2 separate regions of the Homo sapiens genome follow, and region 1 is linked to region 2. The links are contacts of gene promoters, found by promoter capture Hi-C in human tissues and cell types (Jung and others, 2019). All regions are on one chromosome and are shown on one strand. Each heading gives the region's core, a stretch centred on a gene start or on the middle of the fragment in contact. The rest is flanking DNA. Distances are from core to core; before and after follow the strand shown. Region 1 has its middle 11 kb from the start of PRKCD. Region 2 holds the start of NEK4 (NIMA related kinase 4).

What was found. The method cuts DNA at HindIII sites, captures the fragments that hold promoters and counts their contacts. A contact is called where the count stands out against the background at its distance.
Region 1: a fragment that was not itself captured here is called in contact with the fragment with the promoter of NEK4 in region 2 in 1 of the 25 tissues and cell types used here (lymphoblastoid cells).

Annotation. Positions count from the first base shown.
Region 1 is chr3:53,146,909-53,154,396 of GRCh38, forward strand. No RefSeq gene overlaps it. Among named protein-coding and RNA genes, the nearest start is that of PRKCD, 11 kb to the right of the region's middle. RefSeq lists an enhancer at 1,847-2,654. The HindIII fragment of the contact is 4,568 bases long and covers 1,382-5,949 here.
Region 2 is chr3:52,766,680-52,774,216 of GRCh38, forward strand. NEK4 (NIMA related kinase 4) reads right to left here and starts at 4,261. Exons shown (of 16, transcript NM_003157.6): 1 at 3,975-4,261; 2 at 1,659-1,925. The coding sequence starts at 4,067. RefSeq lists enhancers at 4,038-4,555, 4,343-4,392 and a silencer at 4,073-4,182. The HindIII fragment of the contact is 13,261 bases long and covers 1-7,537 here.

The sequences.
Region 1 (7,488 bases), core at 2,416-4,915, 380 kb after region 2:
CTTAGCAATATCTGCCTCAAGCACAGAAGTGGGCACAGTAGCTCACCTAGGAATTTGCCACCCCCTTCTTCTACCTTTCCTCAGCTCTCAGCAGAGTAGGGATTTAATAAAGGTTTGTAGATTCACTGTTGACTAACAAGGTCAGTGCAGAAGTCATTTAGAGTTACCATTTTCTGTGTAGATGAGAAACATGAACACATGGCCTATTTACTATTGCCTCTGCAAGAACCAGAAAGGGAACCAGTGAGAAGAGAAAATGACAGACAGCAAGTGAGAAGCCAGTTAGATGCAAGTGAGACGTCAGTTAGAACTTCCTAGTAGTATGGACTAAGACCTTAGCCCAGGGACAAGGGAAGTCGCAGCTCAGCCCTCACGAGTCAGCAGAGACTGGGAGTTTTTTAAGGCAAATTCCAGACAGCAAACTTGGCTAGGCCCAGGCAGTGAGTCTTGTGTGGCAGGAGATGGGGTGCAGTAGACTCACACACCCCCACTGCGCCCAGGACAGTGCGAGGGGCACAAAGCGGTCCTGGGTGGAGCCCTGCCCTCACACCACTTCCCACGCTGTAGGTGGGGAAGAGCAGGCAGGGACACACAGGTTCCCTCTGGGCTGAGAAGATCTGGGCAGGCTGCAGGGGAGATGGCATGGCCAAGAGTGCCGGCTGTGAGGCAGCCAGACTGTGTGCCTACCCTTGCCTTCCCCAGTCTCTTGTTTCCCCCTAGACACCCACCTGTGAGGCCACACAGGCCTCACAGTTGGCAAATGAGCTTTCAGAAGGGAAACTGTCCTTCCCCTGCCAGCTGCTGACGCCTCCACGCCGGTCACTTGTCTCACTCCACCCAGGCCAGTTACCCACTGTCTCACTCTCACCTCTGTGGCTTTAGGGACAAGCTGGCCTAGTGGTTGTGAAGTCTGGCCCAGAACCCAGGGTACTGTGGGTGACCATAGGCATGTCACTTAGATTCCCAGGGCCTCAGTATCCCCTCCTGTAAAATGGGACTAATGATGGTACCCATATCATAGGGGCTTTGTGGGAAGTTTGTGAATTAAGGAACATCAAGTGTTAGTTCAGGGCCTGGTAGGTAGTGAGTGCTTGATATGTGGGGGCTGGAATTACTGTTCTTGTTATGATGTGAAGCTGAGACCAAGCTCTCTTCACACCCTCTGTAGAGTCTGGAATCCACCCAGACACCCAGGGGACCACAACCAAGATCTGGAGGCCTGTAGGCTGATGGAGGGCCCTGGAGCTGGGACTTGGAACACTCTGCACTAGGCCTGGTGCAGAACAAGAGGGGCAGGGGCAGGGCTCCCTGCAGCCTGTGGCCCTGGGCCTGCTGAGCTTAGGGCTATATGCAGAGCTGGCCACCCCAGGCCACCTATAATTACCTTTTGGCAGAGCTCTGCGGTACTGGGCGGGGTAGCAATTTTCAGGTTTTATTTTGATGCCCAGACAGTGCCTTTGGGCAGCTTAGCACCAGTTGCTGCCAGACAGGATCAAAAATTGAGTTCTTCAGGGAGGAGGCCCTTCCAAGGAGGCTGACCTCTGAGTGCAGGGTCTAGGGTTCAAGATCCCATGGTCTCCACCAGGCACAGTAATAATCCCTGTATCCTGTAATCACGCCTGTAATCCCAGCACTTTGGGAGGCCAAGGTGGGCGGATCACCTGAGGTCAGGAGTTTGTGACCAGACTGGCCAACATGGTGAAACTCCATCTCCATTTAAAAATATAAAAATTAGCCAGGTGTGGTGACGCGTGCCTGTGGTTCCAGCTACTCAGGAGGCTGAGGCAGGAGAATCGCTTGAACCCAGAAGGCAGAGGTTGCAGTCAGCTGAGATCACACCACTGCACTCCAGCCTAGGCGACAGAGCGAGACTCTGTCTCAAAAAAAAAAAAAAGAAAGAAAGAACGAAAAGATCCCATGCCCATGGTCTCCACAGACACCCCCAACTTTTTTTTTTTTTTTTTTTTTGAGATGGAGTCTCGGCAGGCTGAAGTGCAGTGGCATGATCTTGGGGCTCACTACAACCTCCGCCTCCCAGGTTCAAGCATTTCTCATGCCTCAGCCTCCCGAGTAGCTGGGATTACAGGCATGTGCCACCATGCCCAACTAATTTTTTTGTATTTTTAGTGGAGGCAGGGTTTTACCATGTTTCCAGGCTGGTCTCGAACTCCTGGCCTTAAGTGATCCATCCACCTCAGCCTCCCTAAGTGTTGGGATTACAGGCGTGAGCCACTGTGCCCGGCCCACAGACTCCCTTTTGCCCAGTCCCTGGGGGCAGGGGCTGCGCCGGGGAGCCTGGGTAGCTGGGAGAGTCAATGGGAAGCAATGCAGGCCCTCTGGGACACAGAGTAGAGCACACAGGAGGATCCAGGCCGGGAAGGCACAGTGGACTCTTTTCCTTGTTCTCCTCTGCTCTGTCCCCCTTCCCTCCTCCCCTCAGGAGGGAAAGCCTTGGTCTTATGTGGAAAGACGCTGTCAAAACTTCCGCTGGGGTGGTGTGGAATGAGGGTGTCTCGGGAGCGGATCCTGAGCCTGAGCCATCTCTGGAGGCCACACACTCTTGCCTGCTTGCACCTGGCATCTCCTACCCTGCTGCCCCCACGCCATGCCTCTTAAGCATAAGAATGCATGCACATATGTGTCCTTGCACACTCACCCAACAGCGACCAGGGTGATGATAAAGGAAGTGATGGTAGCTTCCCACCCAAAACTCCCTCATCTTGAAGCAGGGAGAGAAGGAAGTCAGGCTCCAGGTAGGAGAAACAACCCCGTGTGTGCCTGAGTACCTACGGACCCCACGGCCATTAGCATGGCAGGCCTGCCCCATGGTGCTTAATCATGCACTGCTGCTCCCTCTTCTCTTGGACACATTCCTGCCTGCTGCGTCTGACCCCCATGGCAGAGCCCATATTTCTCTGGATCCCATAGAGACTTCCAGGGCAGGGCCTGCCAGTGCTCCTGGGTGCAGGGAGCCCCAGAAGTCCAGGCCAACCCCATGCAGCTTAACTTTTGGCCCTTGCTATATGGAGGCTGGGGGCTGAAGAAGCCAAGAAACATGCAGTCACTAAGGTTGCTGAGTGCTGTCTCTGGGCACAGCGATGTCAACACAGGAAACCTGGTCTTCACTGAGTACCTGCTGTGTACCCGGCCCTCACAAGGTGGGAGTCATGTGTGTGGTGGCAGTGGGGAGTGATCAGGAGGACAGGACATGGCACTCAAGGGGTGACCTTGCAGCTAGGGAAGGAACAAAAACATACAGGATCTAAGTCTCAATTGCCAAAAAGGATAGCTCCTGGAAGCCCAGAGACCTGTAGACTCAGGTTTTAGAATTGACAGTGAAGGAAAGGAAGGGTTCAAGGTGGCCCAGGAGCACCCTATACTCATCCTTGAGTCAGCTGGCCAGTGTCCCAGCAGCTCATTATGTAAGGGCTGAGCCAGCCAAGTTTGCAGAGCAAAGGTCAGAATGGCAAAGATTTATTGGAAAGTCTCCTTGCACTCATACCCATGAGTGCCCTTTCATGTGGGGACATTTTGTGCTCCTGGAGCACACTGCAGTTGGTCTTGGGTACTTCCTTGGGACAGGGAAGCTGGGCACGTGGGCTGGTGGAAGTCTTGGGCTCTGAGTTTCCACCCCTGCATCGGGCTTGGGCATGGCCAGCACTCTGGTTCCTACCCGATTGGCTCCAGAGACCCAGGAAGCATTCATATGAATCATATAGGTCATGGCTTCATTTTCCCACTCATTTAAAGGTGCCTGGTGCACTCACACCTGCCTCCAGCCTTTGCTCTTACTGTTTCCTCTGCCTTGAGTGACCTTCCTCCAGATCTTCTCCCCTCCAGTTTCTGCCTGGAAAGCCCTCTTTCCAAGCTTCATTTCCCATGATCTTCACCACAAACCCAGGCTTTTGTATGGCACCCAAGGCCGCTGTGAGTGTGAATCTTCAACTGGCCCCTGAGGCACCTGCCAGCAGTAACCAGTGCCCTGCGAATCCCACCCTGCAGCCCCTCAGCCTTCCCTAGAGTCAGCCTTGGATGCAGCGGGCTCATTACCTTCAAGCCTTTGCTCAGGCTGTTCCTTCTGCCTGGAGTGCTTTCTCTGCCTCCTCTGCCTTCCCACCACTGCCCACTAAGGAATTCCTTCTTGCTCTTCCCGGCCCAGCACCAAGGGCACCTTTTTGGTGAAGCCTTCCCTGCTTTGTTGGCCCTCGCACAGAAATTTTTTTTTTTTTTTTTTTTTGAGGCAGAGTCTCGCTCTGTCACCCAGGCCGGAGTGCAGTGGCATGATATTGGCTCACTGCAACCTCTGCCTCCCGGGCTCTAGTGATTCTCGTGCCTCAGCCTCCTGAGTAGCTGAGATTACAGGCATGCGGCACCACGCCCGGCTAATTTTTTGTATTTAGTAGAGGTGGGGTTTCACCATGTTGGCCAGGCTGATCTCAGACTCCTGACCTCAAATGATCTGCCCTCCTCGGCCTCCCAAAGTGCTGGGAATACAGGCATGAGCCACCATATGAAGCCATGCCTTAGATTTTATACAGAGGGCTTGAGGCATGCAAGCTTTCCTGTCCTACCCTAAAATACACCCTGAGGTTAACAAATTAAATCATAATAACAAAGCTGGCAATAATCCACTGAGCACTCGCTCTGATCCAGGCACGGTGCTAGGCCCTCCTCTTGTCTACTCTCTATGAGCCTCTGTTAGCAGCGAGTGGAAGCCAGAGAGGGAAGGTGATGTGCCCAGGGTCACATAGCTGAGTGGCTGAGCTCCCTGCCAGAAGACCAGCCCCCAGTAGCCCCAGGACACTCCTGACCTTGGCCACCACTTTCAACACCTCCGTAAGAATAGGCCCTTTCACTCATGCATTCTGACTCCCTCAGCGGACTCAGGCTCAGGGGCTTGGGCTGCCCCTCAGGCATGAGGAGAGGAAGAGGGGACCCTGGAGGGCAGTCACACAGGCATGCAACAGCAGGGAGGCTCCAGCCCAGAACCTCTGTGTCAGAGGAAAACAGGTACTTGTGGGACTCCCTCCCTTCCTCTGGTGGGCCATGGGCCGAAGTCCAGGTCACCATCTGGTCCCCTGCAAGCAGATCTTGCAGAATGTCCACCCCGGCTCCAGTTTCCTGAGACGTTGTCCTGGCCACGTCCCTGTCAGAACTGACTACCAGGCAGCAGAGCTGGCCCCAGGGCAGCATCCGTCTTCGGCTAGGGAAGGGGCTGAGACCCTCCGCAGGACACGTGAACACACCAGGTCTTGGACTCCTGCCTCAGCGCCCTGCAACAACCTGTGTGGCCTTGGGCCGGGCTTCACCTGAGCCTCAGTTTCCTCGTCTCTGGGATGGACGGGAATCCCTGCTTTACCCCAGGTGTAGGCAATTAGACAGCAATGAGGTGGCTGCCCACTCCTGTCCATCCTCCCATCAGACCCTGTGCTCAACCGGCAAGGAAGCCAGGCATCTTCTTCCTCCTCTCCCTTGCTCCATCAGTCAGTCCATGTGACCACTGACCGTTGGGTCTTTCATCATCCTCCCATCGTGTTTCAGAGAAGCTGAGCCACCTGCCTGAGGTCACACAGTTAGAGCAGGCTGAGCCAGGAGGAGAAGCCTGCAGCCTGGGCACACCTGCCTCTGAAGCCACCAGGTTTTCGTCCTGACCTTCGTCCAGCCTCGCACAGACGTCGGGCCTGGCCCTGCTACCTGGCCTTGGGCTTGCCTCCCTGAGCCTTGACTTCCTCAACTGTAAACTGGGGTTGCTCTTACTCTGCAGGTTGTCCTGATAGGCGGTTTTTAATCACTCAGCCTCTCCCTGGTAGCAGAGGTAAATTAGTATCTACTGTCCCATCACCTTTTCTGGGTAGCTGCAGCCACAGAGACCGAGAGGGGCAAGGCCCTGCCAGGATCCTGCAGCCAGTCAGAGGCATGGCTGAGCAGGCCTCTACCTGAGGGTCCAGCGTCTCCGCAGGCTCACTGGCATTGTGTGTGTCCACCGAGGGCCCGTGGAAGCCTCAGTGTTGCCACAACTCACTACCTGGACACAAACTTGCTCACTAATGTTTGCCCAGGCCTACCCTAGCCTGGTAGGCACTTCAGCGCTTAGCCTTCTTCCAGAAGTTTCACCCTACACCCACCTGGGCCCCCTGGCAGACAAGATCTGGGAAGCTGGCCTGCCCCTCAGCTTCTAGGGTTCCCTCAAAGCTGGGGATAGCCAGGGGACCTGGATCAGTGGTGGTGTGGGGTTGAGGCAATCCAGGGGAGGCACATTTGGGGGACAGTCAGTGATACCAGCTCCCACGTGAAGGACAGGGATGTAGGAGGCATCCTGATGTCCCCGGTCATCCCCTGCCCTCACTTCCTCCTGGTAACCCTATTCTGTCTTCCTCAGTGAACTGGGAGATGAAATGGAGCATCAGACTGTGGCTTGGCAGCCACACATAGATGGGTGGGGAGGCAGAGGGAGGAAGGAGGTCTTGGATTGTGTTGTGGGATGAAAAACACACATTGCCCTCATGTCGGAGCACTACCTAACCTGGCTTAAGAGGTTAGCCAGGGAGGCTTCCTGGAGGAGGAGGTAACTAAGCTAGAATCTACCAGAAGACTGAGAGGAGTTAGCTAGGCATGGTGTGCTAAGCAGAGGGAAGGGCATGGGCAAAGGCCCAGGGGTGAGAAGTTGAAGGATGTTGTCTGGTAGGAACTGGAAGACGTTCCTATTCCTGGAGTTCTGGGCTGGCAGGGGGACAGGCGGCAGAGGCTAAGTCACACTGGGCCAGGTGGCCACAGTAGAAGTTTGACCTTTATTCTGAGAGATCCATGGTCAGCCTCAGGGCTGGGGAGTGAGTAGTCCTTGACACTTTAGGAGGATTATGTGGCTGCTGTGAAGGAAAAGAATTGCTGGAGGTGGGGAGGTGGTATTCTGAACAGAGGAGACCATCACAGATGGCCAGACAAGGGACACTGGAAGCCCAGGCCAAGGTGATGGCATGGGGACAAACAAATGAATTCAGAAGTCAGGATGGGGAGTGTGAGGCACCAAGGGGAGAGAGATCTGTGCAAGATTCTGCGGTGAGCTGGGGCCTGGCTGGGGTGCAGAACATCGTGTGTGCAGAAGGTTGATAGTGGGTCCAGGGCAGAAGGCTGCCCAGCGCAGGCCCACTGGGATCCTGCCCAGGGGCTGGGAATCCTTTCCCCTCCCACCCTCTCTCAGAGAAAGGCTTTGGCCCGAGGGAAGAAAGTTCATTTTTTCTTCCTTTGCACCATGGCTATGCTGTGCACACCCACAGAGCACACCCACGGAGGCTGTGGTTCCGCTGCTGCCTGCCTTCTCCAGAGTCTGGGGAGTGGGGGAAGCTTCCTTGGGGCCTTCTCCTCCGGATTCCAGTGGCTTGGTGTGGGTGGGGTGGGAGGAGGGTGCTTGAGGAACAGGAGGGAAGACTTGGCATTTCCATTACCCCCCTTGCCTCCAAGTATCCCCTACCACTGACACACATACACATC
Region 2 (7,537 bases), core at 3,011-5,510:
AATCCAGTTTAAAAATATGTTTACAAGCCGGGCGCAGTGGCTCACGCCTGTAATCCCAGCACTTTGGGAGGCCGAGGCGGGTGGATCATGAGGTCAGGAGATCGAGACCATCCTGGCTAACAAGGTGAAACCCCGTCTCTACTAAAAATACAAAAAATTAGCCGGGCGCAGTGGCGGGCGCCTGTAGTCCCAGCTACTCGGGACGCTGAGGCAGGAGAATGGCGTGAACCCGGGAAGCGGAGCTTGCAGTGAGCCAAGATTGCGCCACTGCAGTCCGTAGTCCGGCCTGGGCGACAGAGCGAGACTCCGTCTCAAAAAAAAAAAAAATATGTTTACAGGCCAGGCGCAGTGTTCAGCAGTTTGGGAGGCCGAGGTGAGCGGATCACTTGAGGCCAGGAGTTCAAGACCAGCCTGGGCAACATGGCAAAACCCCATCTCTACTAAAAAAATACAAAAATTAGCTGGGCATGGTGACGCACGCCTATAATCCCAGCTACTTGGGAGGCTGAGGCACAAGAATCACTTGAACCCAGGAGGTGGAGGTTGGAATGAGCCACGATTGTGCCACTGCACTCGAATCTGGGCGACAGTGACACTCTGTCTTAAAAAAAAAACAATGCTTACAAACTCCACTGATGGTAGGACAACTTATACAAAGTCAGACGCACAGTCCTCTCAGACCCATGAAATCCTCAGCTTAATAATATTTTCAAGTACAGCAAGAGCATTTTTATTTAGAGAAAGTATCTCAGCCGGGCGTGGTGGCTCACGCCTATAATCCCAGCACTTTGGGAGGCCGAGGCAGGTGGATCACCTGAGGTCAAGAGTTCGAGACCAGCCTGGCCAACATGGTAAAACCCCATCTCTACTAAAAATACAAAAAAAAAAATTAGCCAGGTATGGTGGCAGGCGCCTGTAATCCCAGCTACTTGGGAGGCTGAGGCAGGAGAATCGCTTGAACCTGGGAGGTGGAGGTTGCAGTGAGCCGAGATCGTGCCATTGCACTCCAGCCTAGATAACAAAAACAAAACTCCGTCTCAAAAGAAAAAAAAAAAAAGAGAGAAAGTATCTCAGAATTTAAACATGGTCAATTAATTCTGGACAAGTCTACCCAGTTCCAAAATAGTATTTCATAAACGTCTCGCTTTTGAGTTATATGCATATTAAAACACAAACTTGTAGGAACACTTATTCCATCTTAAGGAATGATGTGCTGCCCAATTCTAAAAAATAAAAAAAAGAAAACTTGTTTTGCATTCCCATCTACTGTACCCCAGCAGACTGACAGATGAAATCACTGGGCATATCAATTAGCCTAGCCACCTTTCAGCATGACACGACTGACCAATGGATAACAAACATAGTCACTCTATGCTCTTGGTTGCCTCAGGGTCCTTAAAATTGACTTTGCTATAAATGGTAATTGAGTGGGCTTCCCCTGCAATCAGACATGAAATCTATGTCTATTTTAATATAGGTATCACTTACTTAGAAAAGTTCCAATGCTACAGAAAGAGTGACTGGGTCAACTTCACAAATGAATTTTCCAAAAAATACATTTCTATATGTAAGTATCTGAAGAAAAATTTTCCTAAAATACACCTGCCATCTTCTTGCCATCTGGGAACAAGCTAGGATGCTATTAGTCTACACAGTACCTGCAAAGCCATGGCGATCTGTACAAACCACTCTACCACCTGATTCTCAGGCAGAAGCTGCCCTTTCTGCTCCTTGAGCTTTCGGTACAAATCACCTCCTTCACAGAAGCCCATGACAATGTAGAGCAGACCATCTCCTCCTTCCCATGACTCCTTGTAGGTGACAATGTTGGGATGCTTCAACTGAGACAAGAGCTGGGCTTCCTGTTCAGCAGCTCGCCGCTCTCGGCTAGAGGCATTTCGGAGGTTCAGTTTTTTGATGACATACTAAAAACAAACCATGTATTTTTACAATGTGCAAATAAACGTAAGATTTGTGGCCTCAGAGTTATCTAAGGGCTCTCAAGAATACCCTCAAAACCAACCTTGTGGAGCCTGTCAGATAACCTATTCATTTTGTTTTTCACCAAGCACAAAATCGGGGAAAATATTTGCTATTATTGATACTTCTTATAAGTTAGATTTATAGCAGTGTAGGGCCACAAAAATTACCTTTCCCATCTGCATTTCACAATTTCATTAATGACTAAAAAAAGTGAGTTCAAGATAACATACCATTGGATCAATTATAAAACCTGTGTTAGCAATTCCTTAATATCTGGCCATACACAGTGGCTCACACCTGTAATCCCAGCACTTTGGGAGGGTGAGGCGGGTGGATCACCTGAGGTCAGGAGTTCAAGACCAGCCTGGTCAACATGGTGAAACCTGTCTCTACTAAAAATACAAAAATTAGCCCGGCGTGGTGGTGTGTACCCATAGTCCCAGCAACTCGGGAGGCTGACACAGGAGAATTGCTTGAACCTGGGAGGCAGTAGTTGCAGCAGTGAGCCAACATCGCACCACTGCACTCCAGCCTGGGAGGCAGAGCAAGACTCTGTCTCAAAAAAAATAAAAAATAAAAAAAGAAATTCCTTAATATCTAAGCTCTCCCAAAAAGGTGAATAAAATATAGCTTGACTATACATTTGCAGACAGAATAGTCTGTGGATTACGTTAGATACTCAAAGGGATCCATGGCCCCATAAGTTTAATAGTCACTGATCTTCAGCATACAAAATTATTCACACTTAAAAGAAATCAATAGCCTCTAATACCTAATACATTGCCCTCAATCATTTCAAAGACCATACAATTCATTTCTTCAACACATAGATAAATGTGTTTTGTGAAGTGTAAACTAAAGCTCAAATAACTAGCTATTGCTAGTTCCCTATCATCAGCCCCAAAATCCAATGATTCCCCCAATGCCTACTGAATAAATTTCTTATGCATGAGCTTGTGTTCCACGCAAAGCAACTAGCACCAGAGACAAGGAAGAACAGGCAATTGGGCCCTATATTTAGGGGGAACATCTCTTCTCAGCTTGCCTGGAGCAGTCCTACTGTCCTGGTGTAACTATTAATAATGCCTTTCAGTTTCAAAATTGTCCCAGTTTGTACATTATATTGTCACCCTATTAATAAACCACATTGAATAATTGGTTCATTATCCTGAGAGTAATGGGATAAAGTGTTTTAAACAGAGGAGTGACAACATCAGATTTAAATTTGAGAAAGATCACTGAGGCTGCAGTGAAAGTGATGGATTGGAGAAAAGCAAGTCAAGTGGCGGCGACCAGTTGGGAAACCGTGGCCATAGCTTTGCTAGAGACAACAGGGTGTCCTGGATTGGGGTGGTAGCAGTAGAGATGAGAGGAGGCCTATTGTCTTAGTGATAGATGAATATAATCAGTGTTGGGGTGCGTGGGGAGGCTTAAAAATGACTCCAGGTGTCCGGCTTGGGCAACTGGTGGGTTGGTGTCACTATTCACTGAAACGGAAGACATGAGAGAAGGTTTGGCGGGAAGAAAATGAGTCGAGTTTTAAGTGAATCCAGCAGTCTACAGTAGAGACGTTTGGGGCCCTTCATTCAAGGAATAATGCTTGCTAGGCGCTGTATTAAGTCCTGGGAATGCATGATACCGGCTCTCATGAGAGTATCGGGGTTGGGAGAAAGGTGTGTAGATCACGCATGCCAATTAGTACAACAAAGAAGTAGATAGGCAGAGACTGAAAATTTTTACATAAAACTTAGAATTGTAATTAAAGAAAATGAAAATTAAAAGGAAAAAAATTTAACACAACAAAGAAGTAGAAGTAGTTCTGGGCGCATATTACAGGGAGGCCAGGCCTCGTCTTGGTCTGGGACCATTTCCCTGAGGAAACGCCATCCGAGATGAGCCTCTTGCGACCACCCCCGACCTAATCTACCGGTCGGCGCCCTCGGCGCACTTCTGCCCGCCCCCGCCCCTTGCCGGGCCCCACCCCTGCAGACCTGCTTGCCGTCCCGCCGGTGCTTCACAAGCGTCACCTCTCCATAGCTCCCCTTGCCCACGACCCGCAGGTAGCAGTAGGCGGCCAGGGGCATGTTCCCAGCGCTGGCCCAGAGTCGGGATGCGGCGGCAGCGGCGGGTAGGGCAGCGGGCGGCAACAAGAAGCTCGGTTCATGCCCGAGAGGGGGCAGTGGGGGCGGCTGTTGAGGCAGCCGGGCCCGGGCGGGATTGCTGGGGCCCGGCCCGCGACGACGCCGCTGCCATAGCGATCCGGGCCGGGAGCAGTTCTGCGCATGCTCCTGCGTCCCCAAAGGACGGCCATAGAGCGGACGCCACGAGCGGCCAGAGAGGTTCCGCAGCCCCGGGAGGACCCGCCATAGAGCAGAGGCTCCAGGAGGCCAGAGCGACTCCGCCAGGCTCCGCGCACTTTCTGTGCGTCCGTTCCACCGTCCGGATCCCCGCCACAACAGAGTCAGGGAAAGCTTCCTCTTTTTGTGCACTTGTTTGTCCTAAGGCCGTTACAAGTATTGTTCGTTCATTCTGCAAATATTTGTTGACCGCCTATGTGCCAGGCCAACAAAGTCCCTGCCCTCCTGGAGCTCATGTTCTAATGACTGGGTGACAGACTCTCTACCAGTAACATTTGCTGTATCCGCTTTATCACATGCCGTCTCTGCATCCAGCAATCCATCCTATTTTTTGATACATTCAAAGTAAATTATCAGTACCTTTCATCCCTAAAAACTCGCCTGCTAATTGAGAACTACAAAGACTCCTCAGCATTTAACGACTACCCTAACCACTGCACTAAGAGACTTGACTAAACTCTAACATGGCATCATGCTAAGTTAACAGCCTAAGGGCGGATCTCTAGGTGGGCCTAGGCCCCTTTAAAATGCCTGCCCAAGAAAGCTCAGGGGTGCCAAAAGAATTCACCATTTGTTCCAGCCAAAGCCTCCCTTTCCCAGAGCGCTTCCTTTTTTTCCTTTTTTTTTTTTTTTTTTTTTTTTGAGACAGGGTCTCGCCCTGCCACCCAGCTTGGAGTGCAGTGGTGCAATGGTGCTCACTGCTGCCTAGACTTCCTGGGCTCAAGCCATCCTCCCAACTACAGGCACACACGTCCATGCCTGGCTAATCCTATTTTATTTTTTTTCAGAGACAGGGTGTCACTATGTTCCCCAGACCGGTCTTGAACTCCTCGGCTCAAGCAATTCACCCACGTTGGCCTCCCAAAATGCCGTTATTACAGGTGTGCGCCATCGTGCCTGGCCTCTTTCCTTTTTATGGCCAAATAATATTCCATTATATGTATACACCACAATTTGTTTATCCATTCATGCAGTCATGGACACGGATAGCTTCCATCTTTTGGCTATTGTGAATAATTCGGCTATGAACATGGGTGTACGAATATCTGTTTGAGTCCCTGCTTTCTTTTTAATTCATTTGGGTATACACTCAGAAGTGAAATTGCTGGATCATATGCTAATTCTAGTTTAATGTATTGAGAAACCACCACACCATTTTTTACAGCAAGCTGAACCATTTTACATTCCCATTAGCAATCCACAGGGGTTCAAATTTCTCCTCATCCTTGATATATATCTTGATAGGAGATTTGGGTGTATGAATTTGTCAAAATTATCTAATGGTACATTTAGTATTTGCACATTTTACTCAAAGCAATTTCATCTTCACTAGAAAACCAAACAAAAAGAACCATAAATAAAGATTGAACTCTAGTTAATGATATTATTAAAGATAAACAAAGCCAGGCATTAAAATGATGAAAATAGATTTTATTCAGTAACTACTGACAGTAGGGGAAGCAGCTGAACTCCATTCCATTTGCGCAGGGGTGATTGGGCATTCCAAAGGAAGAATAAGGGAGTAGGCAGGGGAGCATGCAGGGGCTCACTTAGAGTCTGGGAAGTGAAAAATTAAAAGGAGTGCTTAGCGTAAATGTGATTAGGCCAACTGTGTCTGCTAGCTGGCAATTAGGGAAGTTAGGATTCTATTCTCCCACATAGACTGGGAGACATGAGCCCTACCTTTATGATGATTACATTCCAAAGGAATGGATTTCAGGTCCTTGAGAAAGACATTCCTAGGTTGTAGGAAATACATAGGTATATATCTCAGAGGGACAGAGGAAGGATTTGTAATTGTAGCTTTTTAAAGTTAGTGCTCTAGAGGCCACACACTATGACTCACACCTAATCCCAGCACTTTGAGAGGCCAAGGTGGGAGGATCACTTGAGACCAGCCTACGAAACACAGTGAGACCCCCTTCTCTACAAAAAATTTTTAAAATTAGCTGGGTGTGGTGGCGCATGCCTGTAGTCCCAGCTACCTGGGAGGCTGAGGTGGGAGAATCAGTTGAGCCTCGGAGGTTGAGGCTGCAGTGAGCCATGATCCTGCCACTGCACTCCAGCTGAGTGACAGAGTGAGACTCTGTCTCAAAATAAATAAATTTTTAAAAAGGAAGGATGTTCTGACATGCTACAACATGGACGACCCCTGAGGACATTATGCTAAACAAAATAAGGCAGTCACAGAGGACAAAAGTATGATTTCGCTTATGTGAGGTACCTGTAGTAGTCAAAGTCATAGATTCAGAAAGTAGAATGGTGGTTGCCAGTTGTTGGAGAGAGGAGGGAATTGGTGGTTGGTGTTTAATGGGTGCAGAGTTTTAGCTGGGGAAAATGAAAAAGTCCTGGAGATGGATGGTGGTGATGGATGCAAAACATGAATGTACTTATGCCACCGAACTGTATTCTTAAAAATGGTTAAATAATAAATTTTATGTTTTGTATATTTTACCACAATAAAAAATTATGGCACACTGCTCCTGTAATCCCAGCTACTCAGGAGGCCGAGGCATGAGAATCACGTGAACCCGGGAGGCGGAGATTGCATTGGGCCAAGATCATGTCACTGCACTCCAGCCTGGGCGACAGAGCAATACTCCTTCTAAAAAAAAAAAAAAAAAAAAAAACCTATCATTCATTCTACAGACATTTAGCAAGGGTCTACTAGCCTGGACCTGGAGGACAACTATGAACAAGACAGACAAGGGCCTGCCCATGTGGGGCTTACTGTCGAAGAGGGAGACGGCCATGCATACTAACAAGCTACCCTTGCCAACTGAGGTCAGTACTGTTCAGAAAAGCCGCCAGGCCCAGCCTGGCCATCCAGGAGAGGTTGCCCCAAGCAAGCACCGCATGAGTGGAAGTTTAAACAAAAACTTTTTCAGGCAGAGGAGCAACATGTGCTAAGATCCAGTGGATTCATTTTGTGACTTTACCTCCACACCGCAATGTGAACTCCCTGAGGACGAGGCCAGGCCTGTCTGCTTCAACACCCTAAACCCAGCAGGTATAAATGAAGGAATTGCCGCTTGCTGAATGAATGAATGGAGAAGCACCTGCCTACCTGGATCTAAAAGAAGTCTCTGCAGTTGAAGCTGAGAGACTCAGAGGGGCCATGGGCTAGGTGACATAGAGGGGTCAGCAGGGGCCATACCACTCAGGATAGGGTGTGCGAGACAGGGAAAGGCCTGCGG